3 separate regions of the Homo sapiens genome follow, and regions 1 and 2 are each linked to region 3. Evidence: promoter capture Hi-C in 16 types of primary human blood cells and fetal thymus (Javierre and others, 2016). All regions are on one chromosome and are shown on one strand. Each heading gives the region's core, a stretch centred on a gene start or on the middle of the fragment in contact. The rest is flanking DNA. Distances are from core to core; before and after follow the strand shown.

What was found. The method cuts DNA at HindIII sites, captures the fragments that hold promoters and counts their contacts. A CHiCAGO score of 5 or more calls a contact.
Region 1: a contact is called between a fragment that was not itself captured here and the fragment with the promoter of PTGER2 in region 3, in 2 of 17 cell types (naive B cells and total B cells). The highest score is 6.6, in naive B cells.
Region 2: a contact is called between a fragment that was not itself captured here and the fragment with the promoter of PTGER2 in region 3, in 1 of 17 cell types (erythroblasts). The highest score is 7.7, in erythroblasts.

What each region holds. Positions count from the first base shown.
Region 1 is chr14:53,055,778-53,060,344 of GRCh38, forward strand. DDHD1 (DDHD domain containing 1) reads right to left here. Exons shown (of 13, transcript NM_001160148.2): 9 at 2,700-2,849; 10 at 1-135. Among named protein-coding and RNA genes, the nearest start is that of DDHD1, 95 kb to the right of the region's middle. The HindIII fragment of the contact is 4,563 bases long and covers 24-4,567 here.
Region 2 is chr14:53,305,932-53,310,421 of GRCh38, forward strand. No RefSeq gene overlaps it. Among named protein-coding and RNA genes, the nearest start is that of DDHD1-DT, 150 kb to the left of the region's middle. RefSeq lists an enhancer at 320-614. The HindIII fragment of the contact is 2,546 bases long and covers 1,097-3,642 here.
Region 3 is chr14:52,312,171-52,316,925 of GRCh38, forward strand. PTGER2 (prostaglandin E receptor 2) reads left to right here and starts at 2,142. Exons shown (of 2, transcript NM_000956.4): 1 at 2,142-3,221. The coding sequence starts at 2,379. RefSeq lists enhancers at 1,372-1,932, 1,933-2,492, 2,727-2,876, 2,897-3,036 and a silencer at 2,097-2,206. The HindIII fragment of the contact is 17,361 bases long and covers 1-4,755 here.

The sequences.
Region 1 (4,567 bases), core at 1,055-3,554, 740 kb after region 3:
AGGTTCTTTAGCTGGGTTGAGAAAGCTTGGCTTCATATGTTCATAAGGTAAAGGATTTGAAGTATTGTACCAGTGGATCTGGACAGGTGAAATGTTGCTGTAGTGTTTCAGTATTAATGGTTCTAATCTATAAGCCTTGATTTAAAAAAAAAAATTCAAAGAAACACAGTGTTAAATCACAATGCTTGGATTTTAGTAAACTGTTCTTACTCTACTGCATGTTAAGTAAACCTCCGAGAAGGAATTTAATTAAAAAACAATAGCTATTTCAAACATGTATTTCTATTTGTTCACTGTTAATATGCACTTGATCTAATGATGAGATTATGAAAAACAGTCTAGGCTAATAGTGTCTATCAATTAGTTTTTCAGAGAAATATTTTTATTATGTTCTGATATGTAACAATTAGATTTATTTTAGTCTTAGGAGCAAAGTTGAAGTAGTAGATGGTAATCCTGGGAAACAGCAAATAAGGCCAATTTTTAATATTTTAGGAGCTCTATTTAAGCTCTGTTTTAAAATAGATTGATACAGTAACAGCATAAATCAGATGCCAGCATAAGAGCATCTGTCTGATGTGAAGTAGCAATGAGACAGCAGAAAAGGCAATGGATACGGCATCAGAATCCCCCAAATTCATATTCTGGTTTCTATCACTTATTTTTTAATTTACATTTTTAGAAAATTTTATTTTTTAAGATGGAGATGGGGTCTCGCCTTGGTGCCCAGGCTGGTCTCAAACTCCTGGGCTCAGGCAATCCTCCCACCTCAGCCTCCCAAAGGGTTGGGATAATAGAGAGCCACTGCGCCCAGCCTCTGTCACTTATTAATTGCATGATGCTTGTTAAGTCACTAGGTCTCGGAGCCCTGAGTTTCCTGAGCTGTAGAAAGGAGGTAACACTTCCTCTCTTACAGAGATGTGAGAAAGAACAGATAACATTTGTAAAAACTGCCTTGCACCGTTCTGACGTAAACTATTTAACAAAGTATTAATTTTTTTAAAAATCACAGAAAAACTATAAAATGAATAATAAAAATTTAAGAGTTTGGAATCCTCCTTTAAAGTTACAACAAAGTTTAAGTTATACAAAGGACAGGGCTCAGAGCAGACCTATGAACTGAAATTCACTTTCAAGTTACGAGACAATGAATAAAATGAGTATATGTTAATGAAATGCTTATTGTCTAGCTGGGTGTATATATATTTTACTTAATCCTAACAATCCTAGAAGGCAAAATATTATCATCTACATCATACAGATAAGATACAATCTCAGAAATAACTTGCCCAGGATTGTGCAGTTTGTATTTGAATCTTATATTAAACTTCCAGTTCAGTGAAGTTAATATGGCAGTTGTAAGTCTTTAACATATGAGAGATTTTCTAAAATTCGAATGGTTAGTCAATGTTATATTTATTTGGTACTAGCTAAAAGGATCCTTTAAAAGACTTTCCACAATTATATGAAGCTATTTTTTCAGAGAATAAATGCTATTTAAAATAGTTTAATATTTAGTTAAACCAGCCTTGTCCCAAAGAAGTATTAAGGGGGCATTTTTCTTGTCTGAAAATCTTACTTGGCATTACACTGTTTAACAGGATGCAAGGTTCTTGGAGTGCTTCCATTAAAAAAAATATTTACAGCATAAACATAATAGAGAATAGAAAAATCCAACATCTTACAATTCTATTAGGCTATAATAAAGTTTTATTTTGATGTTCAGTATTTGAATATTTTCATTTTTCAGAGAGTCTACAAAATACATTCCAATATTGTAGCATACTTTAGATTAAAAAAGTATTTAGAGCAGGATTTTTAAGATTTATGGTTTCTAGGTTACTGGTATTACAATTGGTTAAGGTTTGAAAGTCCAGTAGACTCCTGTCTCTTGTACTAACTGTCTGGGAATAATATTTTTACATTACACTCTTGTATTACAGGTGCAACATAACCAGACCATCTCTAAGGTACTTTATCTCATGAGCCCTAAATTAACCAAAACACACGTTTAATAATCAGATAAATGAAGTGTTTTCATTAATTCGATGGCACCTTGTAAGATGTCTTAGACAGATTTTTACTTTTTGGAGACAGAGTCTCGCTCTATTGCCCAGGCTGGAGTGCAGTGGCACAATCTCGGCTAACCGCAACCTCTGCCTCCCAGGTTCAAGCAATTCTATTGCCTCAGCCTCCCGAGTAGCTGGGATTACAGCCGTGCCCAGCTAATTTTTTGTATTTTAGTAGAGATGGAGTTTCACCATGTTGCCCAGGCTAGTCTCGAACTTGAGCTCAGGCAGTCTGCCTGCCTTGGCCTCCCAAAGTGCTGGGATTACAGGCATGAGCACCACGCCCGGCTTTTTTCTTTTTGTTTGAGATGGAGTCTCACTACTCTGTCACCCAAGCTGGAGTGCAGTGGCATGATCTTGGCTCAGTCCAACCTCCACCTCCCAGGTTCAAGTGATTCTCCTGCCTTACAGGCACCCACTACCACGCCCAGCTAATTTTTGTATTTTTAGTAGAGATGAGGTTTCACCACATTGGTCAGGCTGGTCTTGAACTCCTGACCTCAGATGATGCGCCCGCCTCAGCCTCCCAAAGTGCTGGGATTACAAGCGTGAGCCACTGTGCCCAGCTGATAGATTCTTTTTAGGAACAATTTGACATTGAGAAAAAAAAGAGTCTATATTGCAACTCACCACTGGATCTGTAGGATGAAAAATATTTAGTAACCGGTTACAAATCTCTCTAGGCAAAATATGGTCTTGACTTCCAGTATTTCCTGGGCGGATGCCACGCAACGCCAAGAAAACTGCTAATGGGGATCCCATACAGAAGAAATTCTCAACCTAAAATGATAAAGTCATCTTAAAGTTTAAAAATGGTGAAGTGTTATCTTTCAACAAAATTTGGGCATAACGTAATATATGGCAAAATACAAATAATAAAATATCTTTGAGTATATTCGTTTTTAATAAGAGTTATCCAGATGGGCTCTGCCAACCATTAACCATTCTAGAATAATCTATTTCCATGAGATACTTCATTATCTTTAAATCTAATACAAGTTGAATAAAAGGAAGATAAGGATCATTTTCTTATATATTTGTATACACAAATCAAATATTTATTGAGGTACTACTTTGTGTGAAGTAATACACTCGGTGCTGTGATAGATATAAAGACCAGTAAGACACAGCTTCTGCACTCAAAATTTACAGTCCTGTGGGGAAAGCAGAATAAAATACGTGCATAACAGAGGGAAATAATGCTTTAAGAGAGTGAAAAAAATAATTCCAACTTTGAAGGCTTTACAGAGGAGGTAGCATATGCATTGGCCAGTAAAAGACGAGAAAGGTTTCTACAGCTGGGGTTGGATATTGGTGCTGGAAAGAATAACATTCCAGGCTGATAGAACCAAATGAACTAAAGCCAAGGTGGGAAATAACTTGGTTTATTTTATTTCATTTATTTATTTATTTTTTGAGACCGAGTCTCGCTCTGTCACCCAGGCTGGAGTGCAGTAGTGCGATCTCAGCTCACTGCAAGCTCCGCCTCCTGGGTTCACGCTATTCTCCTGCCTCAGCCTCCTGAGTAGCTGGAACTACAGGCGCCCGCCACCACGCCCAGCTAATTTTTTTGTATTTTTAGTAGAGATGGGCTTTTACTGTGTTAGTCAGGATAGTCTCGATCTCCTGACCTCGTGATCCGCCCACCTTAGCCTCCCAAAGTGCTGGGATTACAGGTGTGAGCCACCGTGCCCAGCCATAACCTGGTTTATTTTTGAGAATAAAAATAGTCTGATAGGCTGGGTGCGGTGGCCCACGCCTGTAATCCCAGCACTTTGGGAGGCCGTGGCGGGCGGATCACGAGGTCAGGAGTTCGAGACCAGCCTGGCCAACATGGTGAAACCCCGTCTCTACTAAAAATACAAAAATTAGCTGGGCGTGGTGGCGGGCACCTGTAATCCCAGCTACTCGGGAGGCTGAGGCAGGAGAATCACTTGAATCGGAGGGGCGGAGGTTGCAGTGGGCCAAGATCACGCCACTGCACTCCAGCCTGGGTGACAGAGCAAGACTCTGTCTCAAAAAAAAAAAAAAAAAAAAAAAAAAGTAATGATAGTAGAGATGAAATGCAAATTCTACAATGGGATCACTCCAAAGACCATACTCTTACGGCTTTTAAAAATATGTTATAACTTACCATATTGTTTTACAATGTATGGTATATATTTTTTTTAAAAAAACACTTTGTAAGTAATGGAGATAGATTCAATTTAAAAACTCTTAACGTTTTAAAGAAATTTCTGCATCATTCCACATCTTAACCTGTGTGTTAAGTTCTTGTGAGAAAAGAAACACATTTCAAGAAGAGGTAATACAGTATACTAGACATGAGCAAATACTCAACAGGAAATGAGTATTAGGAAACTTATGACATTTCCCATTTAACACTGCAAGCAAGTTATTTGTTATTCAGCTATAGGGTATGTCCTTTCCAATAGTCTAGTCAATGCTGACACCTCTGCCACATTTTCCTAAATCACTGCTTTCAACAGGTCATTCTA
Region 2 (4,490 bases), core at 1,120-3,619, 990 kb after region 3:
AGGCTGAGGAGGCATTGTTGCAGTAGGGAATATCCTGCACATACCCAGCTTCTTCACCTGGGTGGCGAGGACACAGGTTGCTGAAGACTCAGGAATGTGTATGCAAGTCTTTAAGGAGTAGGAAATGGGAGGGAGATGAGGGGTGGGCATGGTGGGAGGCTCCTGAGAGATATAAAAACAGGGTTCCAGTAGTTGGACTGTCGTCCTTCCACAGGCCTTTTCATTGATGTGCAAGAGTCATCTTTTGGTACCACTTCCTGGGGACGTTTCCTCCCTCGAGATTGATAACTGAGAATAACCCTAGCCATACTGGAATATAATTCCTGATATCCTGAAAGTGTATTTTCACATTCAGATATACAACTATACCCAGGTGTACCTATTCCCGTTAATTTTGGGCATGGCGCGGTAGCTGAGGCCCATGGATTGAAACAAAGACCGCTTCTGCCATCTGCTGGGCACTCTGAGGAACTCAAAGGATTTTTCCACAGGAAGAGGGGGAGTTTGATGAATTTCGTTTCAAATTTACTTTAGCACTTGAGAATTTAGCCAAGTATTAAACAGATTAATTTTTGCCTTTGTGAAGGCTTGCATGACTTTGATCATTCAGTCGTTTTAATGAACTCAACGTGGTTGTTTCCGATTTGGCCTTGAAAGCCTTGGCATGTCGCCGTGCTCTGAGTGGGAGCCTCGCTGCCTCCAGCTTGGGTTTCTCAGTTTTGGCAGGGCTTTCCTTCCCACTGATGGAAGATTTACAGAGGAAAAAAAAATCATTATGTCTGAAATTCTGCCAGGATACATCAGCGTATTTCCAGGCTGCCATCTACCGTGTAACTCTCTGAAGATTTAATATGAAAATTAAAAAAAAAATTGCAGTGCACCTGCTCCTAAGGAAAACTACCTTGTCGTAGGATCGCATGCTTTTATTAAATTAGAGAATTTTAAATTGTATTTATGAGGATGTACAACTTGGGTTTCTTCCCTTAGGCTTCCTGGTCTCTGTGTTAAGTACAACTTGCCTCCAAGGTCACCCTCCCACCCTCCATAATTAGCCCAGAAATTTAACAGGGGCTTCTGGCAGCAGTTTTACCCAGCAAGCTTAGCGTAGCACTATTTGTGGTCAGATCCTGAGTGATTCAGCAGCTCTACTATCCTTAGAGTCTTGTCTCATCCCACACAAAGCCCTTTTCAGACCCAGTTTGACATTCTGATATTGTACCATGGCCCCGCAGGGTCAGGGAGTATAATGTGGTGATTCAATAGCTGTCTTGGAGCAGAAAAAGGGCATTCAGTGGTGGGTTAAAGGGCAGGCTGGTGACAAGGAGGGAGCAAGACAACATTCTACAGATTCTGCAGCTTTGCTTGGCTAGGAGCGAAACATCTCACCTCGAAAAATGGCTTCAGAGGCACAAAAATTATTTTCTTTGTTACTTAGCTTTTTAGTATCAGGACCTCAGACCTGAGTTGGTAGGGTATGACTAGATAGGAGAAGTTCCTCTCTGTGGGGTCCCTTCCTTGGCATACTGTTTTGTGGTAAATGGACTGAAACAGAATTCATTGAAGTCAACTGAAGTCACTGAGAATGTCTGCTTAAGTTGTTGAACATTACAGTTTTGGTGATATGCTTGGAAGCTAAAATCCATGACGGGCTTCTCCAAATTTTATCCTCTTATTTTCTTTGACTGGTTTCTGTACCTGGTCCAGTTTTAAAAGCTATTTGTGACCATGCTGGATGTCAGAATAAGAGAGCACTCAAGAGAAGTGAGATTATTGGGTTTGGTCCATGGGATATTTCATACCTAGAGTAGCCTTCCATTTCAGAGCTATTTTAAAGCTGGTTCCTCACTTTGTTGAGAGCAGTTGAGAGCAAACTGATGGATGGGGATGTGAGAAATAAGTTCTCCTGGACATGATTTGCAGTCTATACATATTTACCTTTTAGAGAAAAAGGAAATGACAGCCACAATTTGTCCTTCGCTGATTAACATGCCATTTCTCACTGTTTTGATAAGCAACAACAACAATAAATCCCACCTCTTGCCATATTTCTCAGACCTGGGAAACTTGTGTTAAGTCAAACTTTGTTCCAAGTTGACTGTCCCACTCTGAGGGCAACTTGAAGGGGTGACAATGCCTAGATGATCTGAGTTTTACTAATACTAAGCAAATTGTGGTTATTTGCTTCGGGCAGACTGAAAGGAAATTTATCCTTGCAACATTTATGAAGATCTTGTTTGCTAAGCAACTTAGTATTATCAAGGAAGGTGGGATTGTATTGTAGAGAACTGCTTTGCTAGATAGCAGGACATTTAGGATCTGGTTTCATTCTGGCACTCACCAACTGTGTGATCCTGGCTTTTATCTTTTTAGCCTAAGTTTCCTCATCTGGAAAGTGGTTGGCATGATGATTTCTGTAGTCCTTTTAAGTTTTAGAATACCATAATCTACCTTTGCAAGAAGAAGAGTCATTTTTGAGGAATATAGATAACATTCTAATTAATCTCGTATCTTCATTTAAATAGACTTTGAAATATTATGTGAGCAGTTAAAATATAGCCCCTATTCATCTATATGTCTATCTCTCATCTACCTCTTTTTTCATTCTTTTCATTCATCTGCCTACCTGTATATATAATATTGGGTTATCAAGTAGGCAGATTAAGCCTGTACTCAAGCAGTGGTACCAAAAATATTTTGGAAATAATTTGATATATGAAAAAACTTATCAAAATGGTCATTCTGAGAAAAATTACCTTTATTAATTTCTTTATACCGATTTTATGTGTTAACATTGTATATATGGGAAGTAGTAGTCTTGTAACCTTTTAGTTTTTAGGGCTTCTATAGGTATTTATTTATTTATTTATTTAATTAATTTCAATAGTTTTTTTTGGGGAACAGGTGGTGTTTGGTTGCATGGAAAAGTTCTTCAGTGGTGATTCTGAGATTTTGGTACACCTGAGCAGTGTACACTGCACCCTATTTGTAGTCTTTTATCCCTTACCCCCCTCCCACGCTTCACCCTGAGTCCCCAGAATCCATTATTTTATTCTTAGGTGTTTGGGTCCTCATAGCTTAGCTTCCACTTATAAATGAAAACATGTGACTTTTGGTTTTCCATTTCCGAGTTACTTCATTTAGAATAATGGTCTCCAACTCCATCCAGGTTGCTACAAATGCCATTATTTCATTCCTTTTTATGGCTCAGTAGTATTCCATGGTGTGTGTGTGTGTGTGTGTGTGTGTGTGTGTGTATGTATGTATCTCACATTTTCTTTATCCACTTGTTGGTTGCTTTCATGTTTTTGCAATTGAGAATTGTGCTGCTATAAACGTGTGTGCAAGTGTGTTTTTTCATATAATAACTTATTTTCCTCTGGGTAGATACCCAGTAGTGGGACTGCTGGATCAAATTGTAGTTCTACTTTTAGTTCTTTAAGGAATCCCCATACTATTTTCGATAGTGTTTGTACCAGTTTACATACCCACCAGAAGTATAAAAGTGTTGCCTTTTCACCACATCCGTGCCAACATCTGTTAACATTGTTTTGGTCAATCTTTCCCACTTGGAATGGCTGTATTTGCCCAATGCCTGTACCCCTGTTGTATCTAGGAAGTAATTAACATGCTTTTAATTTTACAAGCTTATAGGTGGAAGGGACTTGCCTTTTCTCAGATGAGACTTTTGACTGTGGACTTTTGAGTTAATGCTGAAATGAGTTAAGACTTTAGGGGACTGTTGGGAAGCCATCATTGGTCTTGAAATGTGAGGACATGAGATTTGGGAGGGGCCAGGGGTGAAATGATATGGTTTGGCTGTGTTGCCACCCAAATCTCATCTTGAATTCCCATGTGTTGTGGGAGGACCTGGTGGGAAGTAATTGAATCATGGGGTAGGTCTTTCACATGGGAAAGAGGTTTCCCTGCACAAGTTCTCTTTCCCTGCTGCCATCCATTTAAGACATGACTTGCTCCTCCTTGCCTTCCACCATGATTGTGAGGCCTACCCAGCCATGTGGAACTGTAGTCCATTAAACCTGTTTATTTTGTAAATTGCCCAGTCTCAGGTATGTCTTTATCAGCAGCATGGAAACAGACCAATACATCACCCTAATACCAAAACCAGGAAAGGACATAACAAAAAAAGGAAAACTACAGACCAATATCCCTGATAAAAACAGATGCAAAAATCCTCCACAAGATACTAGCTAACCAAATTCAACAGCATATCAAAAAGATAATACACCGTGATCAAGTGGGTTTCATACCAGGGATGGTTTAACATGTGCAAATCAATAAATGTGATACATCACATAAACAGAATTAAAAACAAAAATTATATGATCATCTCAACAGATGCAGAAAAAGCATTTGGCAAAATCCAGCATCGCTTTGTGATTAAAATCAGCAAAATCGGCATATAAGAAACATACCTTAAGGTAATAAAAGCCATCTAGGACAAACACACGGCCAACATTATACTGAATGGG
Region 3 (4,755 bases), core at 892-3,391:
TCCTGCTCAAATGTTGGTCCCATAACTCGCTTCCAGGGCTTGATCAGGCATCTTCCCTAGGTCCATCCAATCAAGGGTCATTTGCATGTTTGAGATGCATATTCCCAGGACCAAGGTGGCTTTGGGGAGAGAGCTTGGTTATCAACAACTATAGTGTCCACATATTGAACTATACTGTCCACATATTGAACTATACTCTCCACATATTTCTGTGCAAGACTCCTTGTGGTGCAAGACTGAGTCAGGGGTTAGGAAGACAAGGGGGCAGGGGCCTGGGGGAGGATCTTCAACTGCACTCTTGCTCTCGTATTCACAAAAACCAGGGGCCGGCCTGCCACCAGGTACCCATCCAAAGAAAAGCTAGAGACAAATATATAGGAAAGGTTAAATAGTAGGTTTTTGTTGTGAGGGGCCTTATGAAAATTAAAAAGGTATAAAAATATTCGGAAAATAAGCACTGTGCAAATTCAGTGAATCTAAAATCCCTTATTTAATAGTAAAACTGCAGTGCAGAATTATGCTATAAATCATAGTGTTTTCCTATTAAGAAATACTTCTGATTTAAGTTTGATGTTTCCCCATTGCTTGGGGTGAGATGGGGGAATGTTGGAGTAGGGGAATAGTCAGAGATGGATGGCAAAGATTGGTAATAAGTTGTTACTGACCTGCAGAGTTTACAGCTTGAAAGAAAAACTGTAGGAGTTAAGATCCTCTTTCCTAGGAATCCATGCCATGAGAAGTTTAGGGATTGAAGTAGTGCCTGCTGACATGTGAAAACCGGCCTGTAAACTTTGCAAGCGATCCAGTAAATTATGCTTGTTCTAGTGGGAACCACCCCCCCCAACTCCGCATTCCAATCCCCAGGCCAGAATCATCAAAGTTGGCAAAAAATATTCATGGAGAGTAAGCAGGCTGTAGCAAGATAGGCTCTTCAGCAGGCAATCTTTGCTTCCTCCCACGTTATGACTGTCTTTCTTGCCAGTTCCCTAGGCAGATCAGACCCTTCACTTCCCAGTTGGCCTCCCTTCCCCAAGTGAATGTGACTTCTTACAGAACACAATTACCTATGTTGTCTGCCAAACTGGATTTTGTTTTGTTTTGTTTTGTGTTAAATATCAGCCCATTTTCACGACTCTGCAATTATGACAATATGTGGTAGGAAACCATTACTGTCAGCTCCAGTCTGAAACTGGCCACTTACCAATACACTTTGCCAGGAACAAGTCTTTCTGGATGGATACTACGTGGTTAACAACATGTAAAGATAAACGGCTAAACAAAATATCAACATTTTCTTACAAGGCTCAGCTTAAGGACAGAACAGTGATGTGCAATGGTTTTCATGTTGTATCCACAAACACAATTCTGTATAAGACACACTCCTCTTTTTTTAATGGTTGCTTAAACAAGTGGTTATCCGTTATGCTGTTGACATAGGAAACGGTGAAATGCTAGTAACCGAATCAAAGCGGCAGTGCAACAGGCCGCTCGGTGGTGCGCATTGTGTGGTTTGGTTCCTTGGATGGACACACTTGCTTTACGCTTCATCCCAATTTTTGTCCCAACCTCTTAGTGTATCTTCCTGGGAATAGTAAAAACAAAGCAAAACATTCTGGTCTTACTTCAAGCTGCCTTTGCACTGTTATTCCCTTGTTCCGCTCATTTCACGGGATTGGGTTCTCCTAACTTCATTGTTTGGTGAGTTGCTTTGCTTTGCTCGTTGCCCCGATCTTCTGTGTATTCTGCGCAGACCCCGCAAGTGCTCCTGCACTCCCTCCCAGCCCTCTGCTGGGGCTTAACGCTTCCCAGCCGAGGTCAGACTGCCGTGCGCTTCGAGTACCGGACCCCGAGGAAGCGAGAAACGCCGCTCCCGCCGGTCGCGGGCAGCTTCAGTACACCGGCAACACGCGCGCCTCTGCCCAGTGCCGCGCCCAGCGGGTGCTCAGACTCCTTCTCTCCCTCCCCGCCGGCGCGCCCCAGGGACTCGGAACGCCCCCGCGAGTGTGACGCGTCCTGCCTCCCCTGCAGCTCGCGGACACTCGCACTTGCAAGGCCTGGCCAGCACTCTTGGGCCCGCCCCCCGACAGTGCGGGGGCGGAGACGACGGCTCCCCTAGGCTCTGGCTCCCGGCCTTGGCCGGCGCGGGTAGGCGCGGGAGCCTCGAGCGCCGCTCGGATGCAGCAGCCGAGCCGCCACTCGGCGCGCGGCGGGAGACCCAGGGCAAGCCGCCGTCGGCGCGCTGGGTGCGGGAAGGGGGCTCTGGATTTCGGTCCCTCCCCTTTTTCCTCTGAGTCTCGGAACGCTCCGGCTCTCAGACCCTCTTCCTCCCAGGTAAAGGCCGGGAGAGGAGGGCGCATCTCTTTTCCAGGCACCCCACCATGGGCAATGCCTCCAATGACTCCCAGTCTGAGGACTGCGAGACGCGACAGTGGCTTCCCCCAGGCGAAAGCCCAGCCATCAGCTCCGTCATGTTCTCGGCCGGGGTGCTGGGGAACCTCATAGCACTGGCGCTGCTGGCGCGCCGCTGGCGGGGGGACGTGGGGTGCAGCGCCGGCCGCAGGAGCTCCCTCTCCTTGTTCCACGTGCTGGTGACCGAGCTGGTGTTCACCGACCTGCTCGGGACCTGCCTCATCAGCCCAGTGGTACTGGCTTCGTACGCGCGGAACCAGACCCTGGTGGCACTGGCGCCCGAGAGCCGCGCGTGCACCTACTTCGCTTTCGCCATGACCTTCTTCAGCCTGGCCACGATGCTCATGCTCTTCGCCATGGCCCTGGAGCGCTACCTCTCGATCGGGCACCCCTACTTCTACCAGCGCCGCGTCTCGCGCTCCGGGGGCCTGGCCGTGCTGCCTGTCATCTATGCAGTCTCCCTGCTCTTCTGCTCGCTGCCGCTGCTGGACTATGGGCAGTACGTCCAGTACTGCCCCGGGACCTGGTGCTTCATCCGGCACGGGCGGACCGCTTACCTGCAGCTGTACGCCACCCTGCTGCTGCTTCTCATTGTCTCGGTGCTCGCCTGCAACTTCAGTGTCATTCTCAACCTCATCCGCATGCACCGCCGAAGCCGGAGAAGCCGCTGCGGACCTTCCCTGGGCAGTGGCCGGGGCGGCCCCGGGGCCCGCAGGAGAGGGGAAAGGGTGTCCATGGCGGAGGAGACGGACCACCTCATTCTCCTGGCTATCATGACCATCACCTTCGCCGTCTGCTCCTTGCCTTTCACGGTAAGTCACTCCCTACGTTTCCACAGCCCGGCTCTGCTCAGCCTTCTCATGCTCTCCCCTGACGCCTCCACCCTTTCCACCGCCCTACAAACTTTTTGCAACTTGTAAAAATATGTCCTAATTTGTAAAGATCTGTAGCCTTCCCCACTAGTTTCCCCTCCTCTTTAGCCCACTTCCTTATCCTGGCTTATGGGCGTTGCTAGGCTAGAGTTTCTTATACAATAATACAGACCGTCCGAAAGGGAGTCCTGGGCCTCAGCTAAGCTAGCCAATCTCCTCATCCTAGCCCTGGGCAGTGTCCCTTTCTCGCTGTTGCCTATCTTGGCTTAGTAATTGAGAAAGAGGCAGCCCCTTCCACCTTAGGATGGCTGTCACTGTTCCAGCCTGACGACCTGGAGCTGCAGTTTGCTGCCCTGTACCTCTCATCCACTGGTGCTGGTTCTCCATGCTTGCCTTCTGTTCCTGCCAGGGCAAAATGTAGTACCCAACCCATAGCATTCCAGCTGCCATTGAAAATGGTCCCAGATGAGAAGGGTCCCTGAAGCAGAAGTTTAGAGCATTTGTTATTTGTCCTAAAAGTCCAACAAACATCTAGTTTATAGGTTTCCCAATTTATATATTTGAATGTAACTCTTTGTGGCCATGAAAGTTTATAAAACCATAATGATAACTAGAGGAAATACTTGGAGGAACATCTTGCTAAGCATTTGTAATATCTTGCAAAACACGCTCTTAATGTCACTGTCAGAAATACACACAGGTGTCCTTCAGCTTACAGTTATGCACTTGATGAGCACAAAGCCACAGGCAGGAATGGCTGGTCCCTCTCAGGAAGGGAAGAGTGGGGCTACCTGGGGAACTGAAGGACAAGAGACCAAGTCCTGGCATCGTGCTGCCTTGATTTGGGGCAACTTTAGCAGTTATTTGATGCTAACTAACTGCTAAATGATATGAGGCTGTGAGTTCAAGTCTCCTCAAGTGTAACGTTTTAGCTGAGCCTGGAATATGTCCGAGAATGTGCTGGCCTCTTACGGGGGCTAGGAATTGGGAGTTGTGGCAACTCCACTTCCTAATCTTCAGAAGAGCAAGACTGATGCTGCAGCATCAAAGCAGTTAATAGTGACTTCCACCTGCCACAATCTTGGAGAAAAGAGATGGGCAGTGCCTACTATTAACAGGTCTGACCTGTAAAAGCTGGAGGAGAAGTAACTTTATCCTATCTCCTGCCTCCATTACTGCTTCTTACATCTTCATGTGCTCATCCTCAGGGATGGGAAGGGACACAGGGTCCCAAAGGTCTGAATATGATTCTCTCCTCCCCAGCCCAGTTAACTCCCTTAGCTACGTTCTCTTCTCCCTGGTCCCCACTGTCCTCACCCTTCTACCCCATCCTCTGTCAGGGCAGAAACTGTTCTGAATTGGTTACACTTTGAGGGAATGAGATAGAATATTCAAAGACGCCCTCTTATAAAATGAAGTCGGACTGTGGGAGGCTGCATCTCCCATACCACTCTGAGCAGGGGAGTTTATGCAA